2 separate regions of the Homo sapiens genome follow, and region 1 is linked to region 2. Evidence: promoter capture Hi-C in 16 types of primary human blood cells and fetal thymus (Javierre and others, 2016). All regions are on one chromosome and are shown on one strand. The core of a region is centred on a gene start or on the middle of the fragment in contact, and the rest is flanking DNA. Distances in the headings are between cores, read along the strand shown.

Region 1 (5,575 bases), core at 1,605-4,104, 2.1 Mb after region 2:
TAATTTTTTGTATTTTTGGTGGAGACGGGATTTTGCCATGTTTCTCAGGCTGGTCTTGAACTCCTGAATTCATGCGATCTGCCCACCTTGGCCTCCCAAAGTGCTGGAATTACAGGCAGAAGCCACTGTGCCCATCTATTTATACATTTTATCGTAATTTGTATTAGATAGGTTACAGGGCCTATGGAGATAGTGAGACCTTGGGAATCCATGTTTCTGTGATTAAACACGTTGTGTGACTTTCTCCTGGCTCATCTTCTGTCCTCTACTCTCAAGTCCCTTGGTCTTGGCTTCTCTTAGTTAACCCTTCCTCCTCCCTCAAAGTCTTTGTGACCCTCTCCTCTCTATGACCCTGTGTCCTCCTCTCTCTTCCCCTTGGTATAATTTGGCTTTCAGTGAATTGGCTTTTTGTTAACTGGTCAGCTTCCAGTTATATAATCTCTCTGTGCCTCAATTTCCCTTTGTGTAAAATGGAGATAATTATCACAGATTAAATAGCTTAGAACAGTGCCTGTTTAGCTTAGCTATTGTTATCATTATATCCCAAGTCTTCTAATAGGCTTTATAAATATAGTAGCCGAGGTTGGATATGCTTGGCATGTTATGGAAGTAGGAAAGCACTGTAGCATATCATTATTTGATGGCTAGAGGTGATTTGGGAGCAAGGGTAGATTCATTAACTGGAGTGAAATAACTGGCGAAGTGGCAAACAACCACCAGAACAGAGTTATGGGACTTGTCAACATTCCTCAGGAACAGTTAGAATACCTGGGGAAGGAAACCAAATAAAGGACCAGGAGTCCACAGTCACATTAAGTTGGGTCCACCCAGACACCTACTGTTTGGGTAGTAGGGAGAAGGTTAGAAGACTTGATATTTCTCCTGTTGCAGACCGTGATAGTTTGTACACAGGAATCAGTCTGTGGAGCACACTTAGAGGAGCACTTTAAAAAAAAAAAAAACAGGGTCTCATTATGTTGCCCAGGCTGGACCACAGTGGCAGGATCACAGTTCATTGCAGCCTCAACCTCCCAGGCTTAATCTATCCTCCTGCCTCAGTCTCTTGAGTAGCTGGGACTACAAGCACACACCACCACGCCAGTTGATTTTTGTATTTTTTCATAGAAACAGGTTTTCACCATGTTGCCCAGGCTGGTCTCAAACTTCTGGGCTGAAGTGATCCACCCTCCACAGCCTCCCAAAGTGCTGGGATTACGGGCATGAGCCACCATGCCCAGCCCCCAAATATATCTTAAATCTCAATGAACTGACACCATCAACCATCTCAGTCACCCAAACCAGATAACTGGGGGTCATCCTTGACCCCTCCATTTCTGTCATTCCCCTTATCAATCAGAGGTGTTAATTCTTCCTCCTTTAGGCCCTCTATTACATTGGTGGCCCTGAATAAACTACACTTTTGATGTTCATGCTTTTATATGAGCCACTGTAATTCAACAAAATACAACAGAATTGACATTGTGCCAGTTCTGGGCTTAGGCCTCAAGAAAGCCTAGCAGCATCTACTTTTGTGCTCTTGGGAACCCTAAGCTGCCATGTAAGAAGACCACATGAAGAAAGACCCAAGACTTCATGGAAGAAAACTAAGGAACACAGCTGAGAGCTTTAAGTTCCAGACATAACCTAGTGGAACTGGTCCAGCCAGCCCTCAGCTGCTTGAATCATACTAGCATAGGCACAAAGCATATGAGGAAGCCAGGCCTCCAGACATCATGTGAGATGAGCCATCTCTGCTGTGCCCTGCCCATCTCGATCTATAGCAACTTGAGACATTAAATGATTGCTGCTTTAAGCCACTAACTTTTAGGGTGGTTTGTTGCACAGCAGTAAACAATCTAAACAGTCCTTTAACAATGCCTTTGAATACGGATTTATCAGATCTGGCTCCATTTCTGAAAAAGCCTCTCAACCAGTCTCCCTGCTTTATTAAAATACCGTAGGGCCAGCTACTTGGGAGGCAGAGCCAGGAGAATGGCATGAACCTGGGAGGGGGAGCTTGCAGTGAGCCGAGATGGCGCCACTGCACTCCATCCAGCCTGGGCAACAGGGAGAGACTCCGTCTCAAAAAAAAAAAAAAAAAAAAAAAAAAAAATACTGCGCCCTTCACGTATCCATGTTGTCAGAGAAATCTTTCTAAACTATTATTTTTCTGGTGTTTAAAATCCTTCAAGTTCTCTCACCTAATTTAAACAAAAGCTCCTTAGGATTCTGTGATCTGTTTCTCATTTCTCCTTTCTTCTGTATCCCCCAACCCTGCCTTTGCTCTCCATGCGCTTAGTCATTTGGAACCTCTTGCAACCACTGAATGTCATGATCTTTCTATACCTCTGTGCCTTTGCACATGCTATCCCTTCTCCCTAAGACATCCTCTCTAAGCTACAAAGACTTTCAACAAACCACCTCAGGGATCACCCCCTCTAAGAAGCTTTGCTTGAAAACCTCCACCCCTAGGCTGAGTTGGATGCCCTTCCTTTGTGTGTGTCTTTATCATGCCAGTTACATCAATCACTTGTGGACATGTCCATCTCCTTCATTGTTTAAATAATTTCCATCTTGACCTGTACTCAACTAAGGCTTTGCAATGTCACTCAGTGGCTAAAAACAGGTTTGAAGTCCCAGAGCTGAGAACTACTATTTGGAATGATCACACAGCTAAAACTGTGAGAAAGCCTGTCATATAGTTACAATTTCATTTTGATATCTTCATTTTGAAAATGGAGGCAGTGATATGAGACTAGGAAAGAAAATGTCACAAAGTTTCAAGTAGTATGTGAAATATAAATACAATAAAACTTTTAAGTAGATATCCGACCAAACGTTTTATTGGGGTTTTATTGCAATCTACTTTCAGCAATAAGGGGAAAGTGAGCATGAAAAGAACTCCAATCAGACTTTATTCAATAAAGCAGCTTTTCATGAATGCTTCAGGTCAGTGTATGATCAGCTCAGCTTCCAGTATCAACTTGAGTACCTCATTATGGATATTTATGCTAGAATGACAACAGTAAGGCATTGCAAAATCCAAAGTCATCTAATATTAAACCATATTTTACATAATTTGTAGGACAGTATACTAATACTCTACAATAAATAAGGATTTAAAAATGTGTTGCTTAGCCCTTGAACTAAATTCAATTACTAGCTTATTCTAAGTACTCCAGTTAATAAACGTTTGATTGTAAAGAACTCTGACTTCTCCAAAGATAAAAAAAATTAGTTGTCATGACAAAAATTAAGCTTAAAAAGCACATTCACACTTGTCCTTAAAAGCAAGTTTACATCATATATGAGAAAACTTTTCATGCCTGATGACATGGCTTATATGGCAAAAAACAGTCATATGCAAAGGACAACTAGAGGGCAATCGTCCCATCCCCACTTCCTCCAAAAAGCCACACTCGGCCTCAGTGTAAAAGTTATATTTTATTGCCATGCTACAAAATGTATGAAGTTGGCACTGATAGGGAGAAATAGAGAACAAAGGGTGGGAAGGGATAGAGGGAAAATTATGTTGTTACATATACAACAAGGTTTTATTTTAATTAACAGTGGTTACGTTTTGCCAATATTAAAAATGCAAACCAAAATTTAAAATGCTGATCTGAAACAGCATTAAGATACAATGTATGCATAGTACAGTATCACTTATGTCTTTTTATTAGAGAAATATGGAATGTTTATAAAAGAAATTAACCATGGGGGTAAAATTCATATTTCATATACAATTTGGCAATGGTAGTCCCACTGTTGGACAATTTTTTATAAAAGAAAAAATTAAAAATCTAATAAGCTACCTTTATACAAAGTTGCTATATTTATGCCTTTACGTAGGAAAAAAACATTTATAATGCAAATTAGGACATACAATAGTCTTACAATATTATACAATGTAATGAAAATAAAACATAACACAAAGTTTGTCCTTTATAAAATGTATATTTTGCATTACTAATGCAAATGTGGCACACTGGTGACTACTGTACTACTTATACCAGTCTGTTTCCATGCTATAACTGTCCAATTGCCATAGAACTGCAATTATAATGATGCTACAAAAGAACTGTGTTATACCAAAAATGAGGAAGTAGGGATGGGGAACAGGGATGTAAAGAACAGGAAAGATAGATAGGGTGCTGGTTTGGGCAGAGTATACTGTGGTACGTCATAAAATATGTTAATTTTTCAAGCCAAAAACATTTTCTTTACATTCTGTAATTTCGTACCAATGCCTTTATTCAAATTTGGCAAACATCAAGGAAAAGGTAATTAGTACCATATACCTCACACATCAGAAATATGAATGAGATGCCAATACATCAGTTACTTGTGAATGATGTCTCTGATGGTATGTCTATTTCAAGAATATATGTATTTATACACACACACTACACATTGCACAAAACATTTGGGCATTATAGGTTAGGAATAGCACGGGGGAATTGGGAAGTACTTTTTCATCTGTTAAAACCTTTACCTTGAGGCAAAAATATGGCGGCACATTGTTGGGAAATTATGAAAACATAAGGCCCCTGTCCCATTTTTAATAGAACATTATTGAGGTACATTTTTATATGCTGTGCCACAGTTTTGGGGAGGGGGAGGAGATAAACACTAGCTTGACTTGTTCTATTTATAACATTGAACGCTGGAGAGGGTCAACATTAGTATCTATAAAAACAAAGATTGCTTGGCAAATTTTCCTAAGTCCCAGATATGATGTATTCTGGATATACTGAGAAGTGAAAAGCTTTTTGCTGAATCTTAAAGAGTAAAGTGCATATCTCATCACTCCACAGCAGCAGTAAATAAAAGGAAATATTTGCCAGTCTTCCTGGAGGGAGGGAAGGCACCATATTTTCATTTTTAGAAGAAGATGAAACTGGGAAATAAAACACACTAAGAAAAAACACAAGTAATACCAATATCAGTTTCCAACCCTAGCATGGGATAGATGCTGTTATGATTTGTATGGATAAAACAGTATTCTATTTGGAGGGAAAACATTAACAATGATTATATTTCCAAAACCAAAAAGAAGGATCACATGGTCTACCAACAGAATTATCTAAAATTAGATCTGCCTCAGAAAATCTGAGATATATGGCCACAATTATATGCTAATAAAATATCAATATTTCATTCTAAAATGCACCTAGTAATAGGTACATCCTTCGAGGACACAGCTTAATGCCCATTACTAAACTACTGCAAAGGACAAGTAGTATTCTAAATTACCTTTTATTAAATAGGAACACAAGTGATTTCTAGAAAATATCTAGAAATTAACACCAGTTGTATATATTTTCCTAATACTCTTATAGTACCTAAAATCAAATTCTTAGCAGACAAATTGGTCCCATTTTCCTTTTTAAAGCACATAGTATTTAAAGCATAAACTGTAATGATTATATTGGAGTTATCTAAAAAAAATAAAAACTAATTAGAATCCGGGGGAAACAATGAAAAGGATGACGGAAAGAAAGAATAAAGTACCCAACCTCCAAAATGAATAAATAGATCAGCCCTTGCATTTGGAGATTAATGTTCTGCCTTG
Region 2 (5,492 bases), core at 2,992-5,491:
AAAAAATTAGCTGGGCATGGTGGCACACACCTGTAGTCTCTACTCAGAGGCTGAGGCACAAGAATCGCTTGAATCCAGGAGGAGGAGGTTGCAGTGAGCCGATCATGCCACTGCACTCCAGCCTGGGCAACAGAGCAAGACTGTCTCGGGAAAAAAAAAATTGCTAAAAGAATGAATGCATATCCTGTTCTCAACTCAGTTTTGGAAAATTAATCCAGAACACTAAGTTTGGACTGCTCTGTTTTGAGATTACTAACAGCAATTTCCAAAAGTTATTCTCTCCAAATGCTCTATTTTACATATAGGAGGAGTGCTCCAGTGTTTCTGCTGGTAGAAGACTAATCAAACTAAAGGAGCAGAATAGTCAAGGTTCATCTATCCTATTAATCTACTTTGTATCAATCACAGAGTTTAATTTGTATGTTACACTAAAAGTGTACGTTAGTTTCTGAAATTTTGACAATAGGAATGCTGAGCAAGATGTAACTTTATCATTGTCTAAAATATATAACTGTGATTTGTAGTCAGTCTCATATATTCAGAATTTAGAAAACATAAATTTAAATTATATAAGCAAGCACTTAGTAGTTACTGTAAACATTCAAAATAAAAACATACCTCCTAGAGCCCCACTGTGATCTAGACTTTTCTTTTTAAGGCCATTAGAGACGATCAGAACAGGAACAACAACAGAAAACAGCCAACGCCACGGAGAAATAGGTCGTAAGTTACCTGAAAAATTATAAAGGTGGAGCACAAATTGTGTGAAGTTTGCACAGGTTAGTTTTGGCAGTAAACTTCCGTTACTGCTTTTAGACTAAAATACTGTCATAAGTACAAACACCAAGATGAAGTCACCAAAGAAATATATAGTCATGCATCACTTAAAGATAGGGATATGTTCTGAGAAATGCATCCTTAGGTGATTTCATGGTTATGCAAACGTCAGACTGTACTTACACACACCTAGATGGTAGAGCCTACTACACACTTAAGCTATATGCTATAGCCTATTGGTCCTAGGCTACAAACCTGTAAAGCATGTTACTGTACTGAATACTACAGGCAATTATAACGTATTTGTGTATCTAAACATAGAAAAAGTAGAGTAAAAATATGGTATTATAATCTTATGGGAACATGTTGTATGTGTGGTCTGTCATTGACGAAAACATTGTTAGGCAGAGCATGACTGTATTTATGTTGAGACATGCATGCATATTTTCGGAGAAACAGTCTTACTGGAGAATGGCCAAATAGGTTATGTCCAAGTTTTGAAAACCTTTTACTGCTATTTATGATAATAATGGATATCTAGATATTTAAAATGAACCTCTGGTTCATTTTTTTTAAAGGGGGCACGTATTAAATTTCAAGGACTACCTAGAACGAACTCTTTTTGTAACAGGATCTTACTCCTCTCTGCCTGTCAGAGGACAGACACCTCATTCAATGGTTAGAAATTGATTATTCCAGAGGCTGCATCCAGCTCACAGATGTTTGGCTAGCAGAGTGTTTTCAAATAATTTTAGTCAATATTTAAAGATTAGGAGATATCATATAAAAATCCAGATTCTTGGCTTCTGTTTTAAAATTGGGAAGTTCTGGCCAACATGGCAGAATTGACTTAAGGTAAAGAGAGGTGCCCTCCTTTAAACAGGCCGTGGCTTTCCCATTTAAAGTTCCCACCCCTCCTGATAGGCTCCTAAACGCCAAGGCAAAGTGATTTCCTTATGGTAAAGAAAACTGTGAACCACTGCTTGTATCTATGTTTCTATCAAAAATGAGAAAATGGGCCGGGCGCAGTGGCTCATGCCTGTAATCCCAGCACTTTGGGAGGCCAAGGCAGGAGGATCCTGAGGTCAGGAGTTCGAGACCCAGCCTGGCCAACATGATGAAACCCTGTCTCTACTACAAATACAAAAATTAGCCAGGCATGGTGGCAGGCACCTGTAATCCCAGCTACTTGGGAGGCTGAGGCAGGAGAAACCAGAAGGCAGAGGTTGCAGTGAGCTGAGATCGTGCCACTGTACTCCAGCCTGGGCAAAAAGAGCGAAACTCCGTCTCAGAAAAATAAAGGGGAAATGAAAGACAAAGAGGGCCCAAGCATTCAACAAAAGATGAGAAATATCCTATTTCTGGAAATGAAAACTATTACCACAGGTCTAATACACAAAAACGTACACAGATTCATTTGCATTAGGTGACTGGCCCCAGAGGGATATTTCAGTTTACAAATCCTGATTTATTCCATTTAGTTCAAGTCATAGTAAATACTGTCACTAACAAGAATCTTTTCTTACACCCCTCCCCTAAAACTCTGATGCCCCACTGTGAATCATTATGAACGAACTGCACTGAGAGCTTCTGTAGCCTGGAGAACCCTTTCCAACTATTCACATGTCTCTTTGCAAAAAGCCTACAGTCTGAAATGGCAATCCCTTACGATACAAGCATTCTCATTCTCCTTTTCATTTTTCCTTTGTTGCAAACTGACCAGTATTTTGTTTTCATAGGAGAAGGAAGTTTGTGTAAATGGAGGCTTATGCTCTAAAGCACCTTTAAAACTTTAAAGATCTGAGTCCAGAGTACCTTATATTTAAGCAATGTAGCTTTAGGCTTTAAAAGGAGTCTATTCTTTTGAAGCAACCAAATGGCAGATAAGTCCTTCAGCTCTCCAAATGTAAATAGTATACCGTTTTTAATTCTTATTATTTTTACAGAACATGTGAAACTGATAAACTACATTACTACTTTTTTTTTTTTGAGACGGATTCTCGCTCTGTGGCCCAGGCTGGAGTGCAGTGGCTCAATCTTGGTTCACTGCAACCTCCGCCTCCAGGGTTCAAGTGATTCTCCTGCCTCCATCTCCCAAGTAGCTGGGATTACAGCTTTTTTCTAGTTTTAGTAGAGCTGGGGTTTCACCGTGTTGGCCAGGCTGGTCTTGAACTCCCGACCTCAGGTTATTTGCCCGCCTCGGCCTCCCAAAGTGCTGGGATAACAGGCGTGAGCCACCGCGCCTGGCCCATTACTAATATTCTTATTCAAAATTAAAAGCATCACTGTAATTGCTTTACAAAGCTATATTCGCCTCACTTATCTTTTACCAAGACAGATGGAATAGTTACATAAAATATAAAGACATTTTGAAATAGGTGTAACTAGTCCAGAAGTGGTGGCCTGTATTGCCAGCACTTTGGGAGACACAGGTGGGAGGATCACTTGAGCCTAGGGGTTTGAGACCAGCCTAGCAACACAGAGGGACCCCTATCTTATACAAAATAAAAATTAAAAAAAAAAAGAAATAGGTATAACTCGAATTATCACAACAAGCATTTATTAAAGGCATTGTTTATACTATCATGTTAGTAAGTTAAATCAGGCTATGGAAGTTAAGTAAACACAACCATTCATAACCATTCAGAGGATATGAGTTTTGGATTTCACAATGGTATGGTTTTAATTTCCTCTGACTAGATTACAGAGAAACAACTTAGAACACTCAGACTTACCATAATAGGTGCTTGCAGTCATTGATATAATCCAGAAAGCTAACGAAATGCAAATGATCAGGCTCAGTATAACTATATTAGTTATCATCTTTATATATCTTTTGCATATATTGTCGTTAAGATCTGTCATGGAAAATAAGGATATGAGCTCCTGCGGGAAAGAATATTTAGCGTTTCGGAGAGAAAGTCATTTACGATGTGAGCAAGACACTTGTTCAGAGGCAAACATAAATCCCAACATATTCCACCGACCAAACAAGCATAAAAATCACAAAAATTCAAACTCCTTCCGGAAACTCCTACTGGCGGAGAGCTCCAATTCATATGGGCGTGGTCAACGCCTCACCGCAAAAGCAGAGCGCAACCCGGCGGACGGTGAGGGCCGGTCGCCGGCTGCCGGCCGCTTCAGCGCCTCACGCCGGAGCCCACGGGGAAAAGAGAAAGCCGAGGCAGCCAATCCGCGGTCCCGGCGCTGGCGAGTTCCACCCACCTCCCGTCGCAACCTTCTCACCCGCGGGCCGGGTAGGCCAGCGGCTGCAAAGGGGCAGCTAGGGCACCCGAACTTGGGCAAGTCTGGGAAGCACGCCCGACGCGGCTGAACGCAGTCACGTCCCGACAGCTGCGCAAGCCGCCCTAGGGTCAGGTCCAGCCGGCCAAGGCCGAGACCCCAGGAGCAAAGCCCGCGCCTCCCGGCGCCCCCGCCTCTAGCGCCTCGCCCGCTGTGGGCATGCGCCGCAGCCGCTTAGGGGGATGTCGCCTAGCTCACGTGGGCAGGCACTGCTGGCATCCTGGCCGGCTGCGTTTGCACTGCTTCTCCAAAACCACATTATAGGTACTAAACAACATTGTTTAGTACCTATAATGTGCTAGACTCCTGGCTGCTAGCGAGGTAAAGTTAAACATAGTTTCTATTACTGAGCTCTCGTAATTATTGTCATAACACCACTTAGATTGTGGAAATATCTGTCCTCACACCCCTTATATTAAAGGTGTGTGCATTTAGAAAGCAAAACGTCTTGTTAGCATTAAAAATCTGAATCGTGGCTGATTTCTTTTCTTTTCTTTTTTTTTTTTTCGAGACAGTGTCTCTCTCTGCCGCCCAGGCTGGAGTGCAGTGGCACGATCTCTGCTCACTGCAACCACCGCCTCCCAGGTTCTAAGCGATTCTCCTGCTCCAGCCTCCGGAGTAGCTGGGATTACAGGCGCCACAACCACGCCCGGCTAATTTTTATATTTTTAGTAGAGACGGGGTTTTGCCATGTTGGCCCGGCTGGTCTCGAACTCTTGACCTCAGGGGATCCACCCACCTCGGCCTCCCAAAGTGCTGGGTTTAATGGCGTGAGCTACAGCGCCCGGCCTGATTTCATGTTTTATGTGAAATTAACTTGTTTGCCTGGGTTAACAGTAATTAACTGATAATTACATAATATTTATCAATTTTTTCAGTTAATTGCTGACAGTGTAAGAAGAGGAGCCAAATCCATTTCAGACACAGTATGCAATTGTGTTTTAAGCCCCAAGAGTAGTTACTTTAAAAAAGCTCACATTATTTTAAATTTCAAAATACATGCCAAGACAGCTTGTCATTTTCTTTGGTAAGACATCTAATTAAGTAGTTAACTAAGAATCAAATCTGTGAAGTAGGACTAAATAGTAGTGGGCTTCCTGTACTAGATAATATACATATATGGTCTTTATGCTGAAATGTATTATGTGCCTACTTTATTTTTGTCTTAGTCTGTTCTGCATAGGTAAATGTTTGGATTATTTCACCAAGCTGACTGGCCAGTATCAATGTTACCAGACTACTGGGTAAAATTATTAATAATGAAAGCTAATGTTTTGTGGTTTGCACAGTCGCATTGTTTTTGTCTCTGCTTAGACAAAATTATAAACTGGTCTTTTTTTTTTTTTTCTTTTTTTTGCCTTGCTTCACCACAGTCACAGAGTGACCCTCTCTGATTAGTTGGTGTTCGATAG

What was found. Contacts are between HindIII fragments. The CHiCAGO score rates a contact against its expected background, and 5 or more counts as called.
Region 1: a contact is called between a fragment that was not itself captured here and the fragment with the promoter of TMEM19 in region 2, in 1 of 17 cell types (non-activated CD4 T cells). The highest score is 5.2, in non-activated CD4 T cells.

What each region holds. Positions count from the first base shown.
Region 1 is chr12:69,577,033-69,582,607 of GRCh38, reverse strand. It overlaps FRS2 (fibroblast growth factor receptor substrate 2), which reads right to left. Exons shown (of 9, transcript NM_001278356.2): 9 at 2,815-5,575. Among named protein-coding and RNA genes, the nearest start is that of MIR3913-2, 4.9 kb to the left of the region's middle. The HindIII fragment of the contact is 812 bases long and covers 2,449-3,260 here.
Region 2 is chr12:71,684,831-71,690,322 of GRCh38, reverse strand. TMEM19 (transmembrane protein 19) reads right to left here and starts at 4,241. Exons shown (of 6, transcript NM_018279.4): 1 at 3,513-4,241; 2 at 619-732. The coding sequence starts at 3,642. It overlaps LOC124902965 (a long non-coding RNA gene), which reads left to right and starts at 4,259. Exons shown (of 2, transcript XR_007063367.1): 1 at 4,259-4,401. RefSeq lists an enhancer at 2,276-2,345 and silencers at 3,694-3,909, 3,900-3,969. The HindIII fragment of the contact is 11,589 bases long and covers 1-5,492 here.